Regions from separate parts of the Homo sapiens genome. Here all the other regions are linked to region 3. Evidence: promoter capture Hi-C in 16 types of primary human blood cells and fetal thymus (Javierre and others, 2016). All regions are on one chromosome and are shown on one strand. The core of a region is centred on a gene start or on the middle of the fragment in contact, and the rest is flanking DNA. Distances in the headings are between cores, read along the strand shown. Region 1 overlaps NIPBL (NIPBL cohesin loading factor). Region 2 overlaps NIPBL (NIPBL cohesin loading factor). Region 3 holds the start of SLC1A3-AS1 (SLC1A3 antisense RNA 1). Region 4 has its middle 120 kb from the start of RANBP3L.

Evidence for each region. The method cuts DNA at HindIII sites, captures the fragments that hold promoters and counts their contacts. A CHiCAGO score of 5 or more calls a contact.
Region 1: a fragment that was not itself captured here is called in contact with the fragment with the promoter of SLC1A3-AS1 in region 3 in 14 of 17 cell types (megakaryocytes, naive B cells, total B cells and 11 more); the score reaches 14.1 in megakaryocytes.
Region 2: a contact is called between a fragment that was not itself captured here and the fragment with the promoter of SLC1A3-AS1 in region 3, in 6 of 17 cell types (megakaryocytes, naive B cells, erythroblasts and 3 more). The highest score is 9.1, in megakaryocytes.
Region 4: a contact is called between a fragment that was not itself captured here and the fragment with the promoter of SLC1A3-AS1 in region 3, in 4 of 17 cell types (M0 macrophages, M1 macrophages, monocytes and 1 more). The highest score is 7.5, in M0 macrophages.

The regions. Positions count from the first base shown.
Region 1 is chr5:36,995,448-36,998,147 of GRCh38, forward strand. It overlaps NIPBL (NIPBL cohesin loading factor), which reads left to right. Exons shown (of 47, transcript NM_133433.4): 11 at 175-357. Among named protein-coding and RNA genes, the nearest start is that of NIPBL, 120 kb to the left of the region's middle. The HindIII fragment of the contact is 1,808 bases long and covers 347-2,154 here.
Region 2 is chr5:37,015,911-37,018,610 of GRCh38, forward strand. NIPBL (NIPBL cohesin loading factor) reads left to right here. Exons shown (of 47, transcript NM_133433.4): 23 at 128-260; 24 at 1,109-1,252. Among named protein-coding and RNA genes, the nearest start is that of NIPBL, 140 kb to the left of the region's middle. The HindIII fragment of the contact is 1,218 bases long and covers 726-1,943 here.
Region 3 is chr5:36,723,783-36,726,482 of GRCh38, forward strand. SLC1A3-AS1 (SLC1A3 antisense RNA 1) reads right to left here and starts at 1,406. Exons shown (of 2, transcript XR_007058736.1): 1 at 1,332-1,406. RefSeq lists enhancers at 1-33, 44-93, 134-403. The HindIII fragment of the contact is 5,384 bases long and covers 790-2,700 here.
Region 4 is chr5:36,419,767-36,422,466 of GRCh38, forward strand. No RefSeq gene overlaps it. Among named protein-coding and RNA genes, the nearest start is that of RANBP3L, 120 kb to the left of the region's middle. RefSeq lists a silencer at 1-35. The HindIII fragment of the contact is 1,699 bases long and covers 462-2,160 here.

The sequences.
Region 1 (2,700 bases), core at 1-2,500, 270 kb after region 3:
TATATATTAACTATATTGTCACTTTAGGGTTAAGAGTATTATAGTTGTGTTTTATTAAAATAAACAGTTGATTTAGAAAACAAATACTAATATTTTTATTATGCTAACTTAGTTAAAATTTTCCTTTTATCTTCAGATTTACATTTTTTTTTTAAATTTACCTTTCATTAATAGGTAGTATAGATCAATCAGTGTTAAAAGAATTACCCCCTGAACTCCTGGCAGAAATTGAGTCCACCATGCCACTTTGTGAACGTGTGAAAATGAACAAACGCAAGCGTAGCACAGTTAATGAAAAGCCAAAATATGCTGAAATCAGTTCAGATGAAGATAATGATAGTGATGAAGCTTTTGAATGTAAGTATCACAGAACTCTTTGTTATTATTTTAGAGTTTAAAAGCAGGTTGATGTGTTTTTCTCATTTATAATTTGGGGGTTTAGCAAAAGCACAGTCACCTTAATTCTTAATAACACAGTATAGTAAGTTTTTTTCTCTATACTTTAAAAATGCGTGAAAGATGAGATCAGTTGGCACCAAGAAAAAAATATTAAATAAGCTACAATTAATTTTAAAACACAGGTAGGTATGTGTCTGTATGCATTCAGCAAACATTTATTGAGCTCCTATTATATGCTAGACACTGAGAGTAAAAATGCAAATAAGATATGGCCCCTGTCTTCAAAGAGCCTTCAGTCTAATGGGGGAAATATGTAAATAAATAATTGCAGTATGCTGATAAAAGTACAATGATAACAGTAAATCCAGGGTGCTATGGGAACACATTGGATTGGCATCAAAATCAGAGTGGGGGCTCAGGGAATGCTTACTGGAAGAGGTGACACTTGAGTTGAGTCTTGAAGGACACGTAGGAGATAGCCAGATGAAGAAATATTTAAAACCATACTATCACTAAATTATGAATGGATTAGCCACATTGCAGATTATCTGTGTGGTTTGGACCTGGCTTCTCCTTTTTGCCCAGCTGTGTCCTGGAATTCCTCCCTTGTTTCACTGTTTTCCAGAGCTGGCTTCTTCACTACACAGCTACCTCTCTACAACACTGTGATCACCTGTCTTTGCACTAGACTTGCTATACCTCGCCTGTCTTCCTACTGGTCCACTGAAAAAGTTCTTCTCTTTTATCCCTATCTTCCTTCTTCTGGAGCAAGAGAATTGAGCCTAGCCAAGAGGGGTCAGCAACCTTGTTTGACTTAAACGGCATTCAGTGGAAACAGACTATGGGAGATCTTCACTTGTGTGCCAACTGACTTAGTCATAATGACCAAAAGAAGTGGGAAGACCACCAGTGTTCTACTTTTTCCACCTAGTGTCCATAGATTGAGGTGTGACAAGCAAGGGCAGGAAGGACAGATGCATGCTGCCATTTTTAAATGTATATTGCTGATGGAAGCCCTTCACCTCCTCCAAAGTTTTTAATGTTAATTTACTGATTTTTTTTTAATTGTGAGCTCTTGAGCTATGAGCAGTAGACTATGAATACTGAACAAATCTGAAAAAAGTTTTAAAATTGAAATAAAATATACAGCAAACTTAACATTTAATCATGTATAATTGTTATAATTGTATTATGAAATGTATTGACACACAGTATATTAAAATGGCTAAAGTTAATTTTTTTTATTACAATCAGATATTTTGGTCATATGGGGACGTGGTTAGCTCTGGAAGATGAGAAGATAAAAGAAACATGGGGCCCAGGAACTCATTCCCTTTAATATACATGCCTTACCACTCTGCCTCTTTCCCTCTAATAAACATATCACCCATATCTAGAACAGCCGAGAAGGAGGAGTCCCTGAATTCCAGTTTGATTTCAAATGACATTTCAAATCCAGTTGACTGAAAGTGACTGCCTCCATTACTAAATTGCAAAGATTTCTGAAGCTGTCTCACAGTTAAGTGGAAAGGATAACATAATCAAAAATTTCCACCAAGTGTAAAATAGTGGAGAGTAGAGCCACACATCCCTCATGTTTGTCACCAATGCAGCCACCATTCTTTTCCCCTTGCTTTCTATCATGAAAGCTATTGTCTCATCTTATGGAGGCACATAGCTTCGTTATAAAGCCATGGACCCTGTTATATCTATGCCCAACTATATCGAAAGGTAATATTTATTTTAAAGAACCTAAGCTTCACACACTGCTAGAAGAAAGGAAAGTTTCTCTGGATTTTTAAAGAGATGTCAGGAGTAGCTTCCTGTTTTTCTTCACTTATTTCTATACAAGTAACTATAGAAAAGTGGACACTGGAGGCACCGATTTGAATGGTGAAAGAAGTCCAAATGATTGTTCACATAAACAACCAAATGGTCACACCACAACAGAAACAGTGTATTGAAAATATAGCACAATACAAAATGTGAAACTATTATGAGAACGTTAAGTTGCAAGCATTATGCTGCTGAGAGAGAGAAAAAAAAATTTTTGAAACTTAGCAGTTTAATCAAATTGGTTTCTCAAAATCTAAAACCAAGGAAATAGTTTTGTTGAAGGTTAGGGGAAAATGTTGAAGGATAATTTTGAAAGTTGGGGTACACAGATTTGGATGGCCATAGCACAAATATAAGGTCACTGGGTGCCTGGGGAAAATGGAGAGAGGGGTGATGTAAGAAGCTCAAGAGATACATAGGTGAAATTTGGAAAGAGAAGATAGAGAACACCCAAGTCATGTTTTA
Region 2 (2,700 bases), core at 85-2,584, 290 kb after region 3:
TTTATATATTTTGTTACTAAACATAGAAAAAAGAAAACTTAGCTAACAATTTCAATCATGTTGGTAGACAGATGACTGACATGTGTCACCTAAATTGACATCCTTTTCATTATTTGCCTTTGAACAGATGTGGTAGTAAGCAAGGTGAAGAAGATTACAGACCACTGTTTGAAAATTTTGTTCAAGACCTTCTTTCAACAGTCAATAAGCCTGAATGGCCAGCTGCTGAACTACTCCTTAGTTTGTTAGGGAGACTGTTGGTAAGAGTATAGCATTTAAAGATTATTAGATTACTAGAAGACAACATAATGAGGATGTACTCTGATTCACAGATGATGAATTCTTTAAAAATGTGTAAGGAAATATGAACATTGCATCTCTTTTTGCATGTGCATAACTGTACACAATATTGTCAGTACCTTGTAGAAAATTTTCAAATGTTGTGAAGTTTGGTGCTTTCATTTCATTACATAAGATAACAGTGCTTTAACAATTTTTTTTTTTTTGGAAATGTTATATTGTTAAAAGCATCTCAACACTGAGTCATAAGTTACTCATTTCAAAGCAAGAAAATGATTAATATAGACTCCTTATCATCTTTAAGAGTATTTCTACAAATGTATGGCATTTTGTAGTCGTCATGTAACACAGTAGGTAAATGCAAAGAAATGTTGTGACTCTATTTTTAAACTACATTTGAACTTGCACAATACACATTGTTACAAAGCTTCTGGGACCTTTTTGTGAATGGGAAAATATGTTAATATTATTCGGAAACTATAATAACTTTTCATAGGCATCAGAATTCCACCCTAAGAAATTCTTACTCAGTAATACCACATTTTGTGCAAATAATACAGTTGAGCCTGCATATTTAATGAGTTGTGTTGTTCTTAAGGAAGTTTAATCTGTAATTTTTTTAGTCACATGAAAATGTTCAGATTCCAGAAAATCAAAAGGCAAAAATGACTTTATGGGACAATATCACAGGAAAAAAAAAAGTTTAAATTTTAAATTATACAATTTAGATTGGGAATTTATATGATAAATTGCTATTTAAAATATATTGTTATAAATCTATTCAATCAAAAACTATTTTGATATTTAGGTTCATCAGTTCAGTAACAAGTCAACAGAGATGGCTTTAAGAGTGGCATCTCTTGATTACCTTGGAACTGTTGCTGCACGGCTAAGAAAAGATGCTGTTACAAGCAAAATGGATCAAGGATCTATAGAACGCATTTTAAAACAGGTACTAAGATAAAAGATTAAAATTATGGGAATGAATAATAGTTATTTTCTTTGCATGTCCTTACATTAGTTTTGCATTTCATTTTGTGTGGATTCAAAATAAGATTTTTACTTCTAAAAGTGGGCTTTTCAAAGCCCCAGTGAGAAATTTTAAGACCTGAGAATGAATTATTTAGTCTAACAGGGACTTCTGAATGGTTCATATAAATCATTTACTTTCTTTTTGTGAAGTACTCTTAATAATGTATAATGCTGTTTTATATTTGATTTAACATAAATTTTATTTAAGTTTTTAATTTACTGAATGGTGATTTAGCATACACAATAAGATTGTTTTGTACTTTTGAATGTTTTGTATCTTCTCATACCAAGGAGGTGTGAGGAGAGCTTTTTTATACTTTATTACATTAGAGAGTTTTCATCTTGGGGGAAAAAGTGTTTTATTGCTTTTTTTTTTTTAATGTGGATGAAGTGGTAGTAATAAAGTTACTTGAGAAAACTGGTGAAGAAATGATTTCTAATCCTACTATATACAACTTCTGTTTTCATTTTTTTCTAGTCTTTTTTTATGCTCGTAATCATATCCATGTTGGTAGAAATGCCTCTAATTTTTTTTTAGCTATAGTTCGTGTTTTGAAATAATCTCAACCTTAGAGAAAAATTGTAGGAATAGTACAAAGAACTCCCATAAAAGCTTCTTGCAAATTCCTCAATTATTGACAATTTACAAAATTTCCTTTCTCATCTTTCAAAATATAGATGTATGTGTGTCTGTATATGCATTTTTTTTTAAATTTTGTTTCGAACCACTTGAAGTTAAGTTGCAGACATGATTCCCTCATTACCCCTGAATTCTCTAATGCAGTGATTTTCCAAGTATGATCCCCTTGACAAGTAACACCAACATTGAAATCATCTGGGAACTAACAAGTACATTTCTAACAAAAGTACAAATTCTTAGGACCCTCCCTGGACCTACTGAATCAAAAACTCTTGGTTTAACAAGCCCTCCAGGTGATTCTAATGAATGAATGAATGCTGAAACTTGGGAACCACTGCTTAGTGTATATTTCTGCAAACAAGAGCTCTCACTTAAATATCTATAGTACAATTATCAAAAGCAAAAAATTATCATTAATACAATATTAACATCTGATGTAATACAATACCTACTCTGGTAAATTATAATTTGTTGCCATCATTATTTTAATGCTCAAATCGTCCTAGATTTGATCAATGAGAACCCTTTGAAGCTGGCTTTTATATCATTTTGATATATTCCCATCATAATTTGAGGGCTTTCTAGAACAAAAAGGTATTTCAGGCAGATCTTTTACCTTCCCTACCCCTGCCCTGGGATCAGTTGTTTCTCCTAGGAATCTTGGTTCCTTTTGTTGGTGAATTGTAATGTAGAAACCAAGATCTAGTTACTGGATGACTTTCTGTATT
Region 3 (2,700 bases), core at 156-2,655:
TGGTAGAAATAAAAGGAACTGAGTAGTAGGGGGCAGAGGCATGTCTAGGGGAGAGAACTAGAACTGCCAAGGGATTTGAGTGCCTGATGGATTCTGAAGACTGAAATATACATGACCCCAAAAAGCAATGTCATTTGTAAATATTTGTTAATGAGTTTAGTGAAGTGCTACATGGAGGAATGATCTAGCCAATGAGAACAATGTGCACCAGCCAGTTGGATTCTTGAAGCTGCAGAGACTTCATCTTCAGCCACAGCAGGTGGCTGAGGGCTAGAGTTACTTGGGACTTTCCCCAATGCTCTAGTTCCTTCTATCTCTTGGAAACAAGTCTGGCTCAATATGTTCAGCAGCCCCATTGATGTTGCCCAGAGGAAGTGTGGATCAGGGCTCGCTGACCCCAAGGTTAGCAGCAGAAGAGCAGGGCCTCTGCCTCCCCAGCCAGGAAGCCCACAGTCTTGGCCACATGAATGAAGGAGGTCTTGGCAGCATCTGACACACCTCGGGGTAATGATTTAGCCACCCCAAATTACCGTGTCTCCACAAAATAGTCACTTGGGGCCACACTACATTGTGGAGAGATAATGAAAGAGCTTCTATTTTTGAGCTATCTTTTCCTCATATGCGAATAATTTCACACACAAAAAAATGAGAAAACCACTTCTCTCTGTCACCTACAGAATCAGGAACAGGGATCAGATTATCTTTTAGATACCCGCCCCAAAAAGAAATAAAAATCAAGAAAACATGGGTAAATACCATGGTGGACATTTAAATGAAGCTGAGAAAGAAAGCTTTCTCTATTTAGAGAAGAATTCAAAATGGATGGCAGGAGATTTGTTGAAAATAAGGAAGAGGGAGGGAAAGGTTAGTAAATAATAGGTCAAATCTTCAGCCTAGAGGGCACTACTAAGTTTTCTTTTGTTCCCCCTTAGGTTTCCTGGTGTAGCAGTGCAGTTGCAACGTAGTTTTGTTTTTTGGGTTTCTTTAAACCTAGAGTGGTAAGAGGGACTTGGTGGCGATGGACTGCCATGGGTCGGTTCCTTAGAGGGCTCTTGAGTTTTTCCCACCTGTCTCCAACTCCAGGGCCACCACTCTAATAAAGCCACTGCCATCTCTGACCAGCTCCCCTGCTGTGGCTTTCACTCTTGCTCTCTTTACAGCCCATTCCACACAGCAGCAGCCAGCATGGCACTTCCCGTTCTGGGCCCCTCCCACTGACTGCACCCTGTGCTTGTCCTTCATAGTGTGTAAAGATCTGTATGTGGGGTGATTTGACTAACGGTTCTCTCCCCTTAAGTATAAGTAAACCTATGAGGGCAAGGACTGCTTACCTTAGCATCCTTGGTTCCTGGTAGGATGCCCATCCCATAACAGGCTGGAGCTCCTGGGTGTGTGGGAGGGAGTAGGAAGGAAGCAACAGCTGCCAATCAAAGGCCCATTTGGGCATGTGACCCTTAGCTAGCCAATCAGAATCCTTTCCAGGGTTGTAGCAGTTGAAGCTGTGAGCAGCTCAGTTGGTTGGGTTGTCTGTCTTGTCTTGGCTTGGATTCTCCCAGAAGGAGATCCTGAGTCAATGATTCGGGTGCAAGTAGATTTCTTCTGGGAGCCTTTCTTTAATAAAGCACTTGCACCTGAGTCATTGACTCAGGATCTATTTCAGGATCTCCTTCTTGAGGGAGAGGGCGAAACAGGATCCAGAAGAAGCAAAGCAATGGAGCAGGCATGGCATCAGGAAGAGGACAGGGAGGCTGCCGTAAGCCCAGCAGGCTCCCTTTCAGGCTGTTAAGGAGGGGGATGAGTACGAACATGAAGGTGGCCCAAGTAGCTCTAAGGTCCCTTCTCTCATCTCCTGTCCTTACCGGGGGCCGTAGGCTCTAGATAAAACGCTGCCCCACCACCCGCCAGGGCTTTTGTTTTGGCTCACCTTTCATCCGCCTTCTCAGACTCTGTCTGCCTTGGCTTCCCTCAGCTGAACCCAGGGAATTTGCATTTTGCTATTTTCCATCTGCACTGGGTAGCCTGGCTCCAGATGTTTGGGGCAGCAAATGCAGAAATTCCAGGCAAACGGATCTGATCATTCTCTGCTTGGCTCCACTCGCTGCATCCCAAGCACCAGATGCCTCACTGGTGTCTGCCTACCTTCCTGGGAGGCAGATCCACCGCTCATAAGATAGAGCCCAACGACAAGACCCTGTACTTATGGAGGCCTTTTATTTAACAACTCATTTCATTGAAGGAAAAATCTAGAATCTACTAAGACCTCCTGATATTTTTTAATTAACTAGAAATTGTGGATGTATCCCTCAATATTTTCATCTAAAGTGGTTGAAATGATAATGGAGGGGAAACTGTGTTTTAAAAGCGTGTTACTCCATTTCTTTCATTCACCTCCATCAATGATAATATGAGTTATCACTCTTAATATTAACCACGTGGCAGGCTTCATGCATTCTCACATACATTTCACCCTAAGGCCTGGAGAAGATAATTTCACCAAAGTCACACAGGTAGTACATGGAAAGGTGTAAATTTGAACCTGGATCTTACTGCAAACCCATACTCTTAACTGCTTCATTCAACTTTTGCCAGCAATCATTTGTCATAGACTAAATGCCAGAACCTAAGCCCAAGATTTTGCAGTATACAGAGGAGAAACTGGATGTCTTTTGAAATGCTTCAGAATGGTTTCTATAGTACATA
Region 4 (2,700 bases), core at 61-2,560, 300 kb before region 3:
AGATCTGGGTTTCAGTTTCATCTTTAAAAACTAGGGTTCCTGAACTTCTTCATCAGGCAAAGCCATCACAAACCTACAGACCACCTTTTCTTGAATTAGAAGAAGACACCCCTTTTGAGAAAACTTAGTGAGTTTGGTGCAGTGCTTGGTGAGCAGACTGTAACGCTTGTGTCCTTTGCTCCAGGATCACGCAGCTCTGTGCCACAGTCCATATCTCAGTGAAAAAAAGCACAGGTCTGTATTTCATTTCTGACTTGTCCTGTTGGCAGACACCCCCAAACAACCTGCATAAGTGTATGCAACAGGGCCACCATCAGGAACAATGTGAATGTCCCAAAGTGACAGTCCGGGGCCCCAGCCCACCCACAGATGGGTTTTGTTATCCCTAATGATGTTTGAAAGAATTTGAATTGCTTGTCAACCTTAAAAATTAGGAGATTTCATACAAAATCTAGAGTTCAAGCTTTTCTTGAAAAATGAGATCTGGGCACACTGGCTCTACATTCCTGCATTGCAAATTAAATTGGAGCTAAGCAGTGCTGCCTATTTATGTATGTACTTAAAAATTTTTATAGTATATTTTAGATTTCATTCTCCATTAGCATATAAAAAGCTACCATTTTATTTTTATTATTATTATTTGTATCAGGTTTTTAAATAGATGGTCCTTGTGTTTGGCATAAAATCTAAAAGATATGAAATGGTCTATACACACTGTTCCCCAGTTCCCCAGATGCAACTGCTCCAACCATTCTTATGTGTCCTTTCAAAGGTATTGCATCCACACACTACAAAAACATATGCAGTATTTCTAAGACACCATCAATTGCAAGATGCACCATTATTTTGTGTTCACTAAGAAAAAAAATTCCAATAAAATCATGACATTGTGCCTTAATGATGGTCCTGCCTGATCCATACATCAGTCAAGTCAGCCCCTCATTGCTTTGAAATTTGTTTCATCTATTCTAAGGGGCTGGACATTTTTCCTGCCTTCTGTTGGACCACTTGGAGTATGGCAGCCAATCCTTTTACATGTATCTCAGTAAGAAAATGTAACATGGGGCCGGGCGCGGTGGCTCATGCCTCTAATTCCAGCACTTTGGGAGGCCGAAGCGGGTGGATCACGAGGTCAGGAGATTGAGACCATCCTGGCCAACATGGTGAAACCCCGTCTCTACTAAAAATACAAAAATTAGCTGGGCATGGTGGCACGTGCCTGTAATCCCAGCTACTTGGGAGGCTGAGGCAGGAAAATCTCTTGAACCAGGGAGTCAGAGGTTGCAGTGAGCCGAGATCGCACCACTGCACTCCAGCCTGGCAACAGAATGAGACTCCATCTCAAAAAAAATAAAGAAAATGTAACATGGCTTTATCTACTTGTGGATATCTTCATTTCGTAGGTCTTAAAAAAGACTTAGTTGTTGCTTTGATAGATATGTAATTGATTGATGATATAAATTGATTAAATTGATTCCCTGAATTTATTTTGGTGTAAAAAGTAAGGTACGCATCTATTTTTTCTAGCAGCTGCTTTCAGTTTACTACAGTTCCCTTCCACTTTCAACTGTCTTACCTTAGAGAGCTTCACTTGTGTTACTTGTTTGGCACCCTAATAGACATTTGAGTTTATAACACCTGGACTATTGGACAAATGGCTGGACAATGCAATTAGCAATCTTACTGGTAGTCCACTTGCTATGAGAGGTGGTGTGGTTTCAGCACAGGAAGCAAAGTCCTCTAAATAAGACCTATATAGCTATGCACATGCTTTCAACTGGGAGAGCCCTTTAGGAGCCAGCACATGGCTAGTGTTGCTGGGGTTACCTTACCTGGGGGCTTCTAACTTCTGGCTTGATTCATCTCCCTCCTTCTTTTAGATGATGTGTCTACATCACCGGTAGGCAATGTAAGGAAAGCAAGTAAGATTCGTATCAATACAAGACAACCTAATAAAAAGCAAAGCTAAAATTGAAGCCTGGGAATAGGCTTCTGCATTTACATTAAATATGTGATAATTTTGGTGCAAATTGACATGGTTGTTCTAAGACAGACACATCTTAAAGTATGCCTTGTACTCAGAAGATGTGCAGTAGACAAATTTTAGAGGTGTGAGTTCTGGGCCTTCCTCTACTAGGGTACCTTGTGCCTCTTTGAATAAGCTTGTCTCTGACACTTCGCTTATTGGCCTATTCTATGTAGAGATGGTTTAGACCAGAATCTAGATCTAGGATCTAAAGTTCTTTGAACAACAGATGTCTTTGAAATACACGTAATTTAATATAAACTTTCAGAGCATTCACAGGCTCCCTGATGTCCATCTATTCATTTCTATACATGACTGTCCAACGCTTGCCTTTATACACATTCTAAGTTTCACTTATTTTTTCTTGTGTCACTGTCACAGAGACAACATTTAACAGTGCTTAGCGGCTGCACATTAAAGATATTTTTCAATCTTCTATTCCTTGAGAGAGTAATAACCAAACAGTCTTGTAGAGGATATTCATGGCCCTGGCATCTGATATTAGGGCACAAACACCTTCCACTTACAGAGCAAATATGCCAGATACTCACTTTCCTAGCACCTTTGCAGCTAGGGCCTGAATCTCAGTTTTGTTTCTGCCCTGGATTTAGAATTGGAAACTGGTAACACAAAGGAGCAAGACCACTCGCAAGATGTCCTGGCGAACGTGGCCA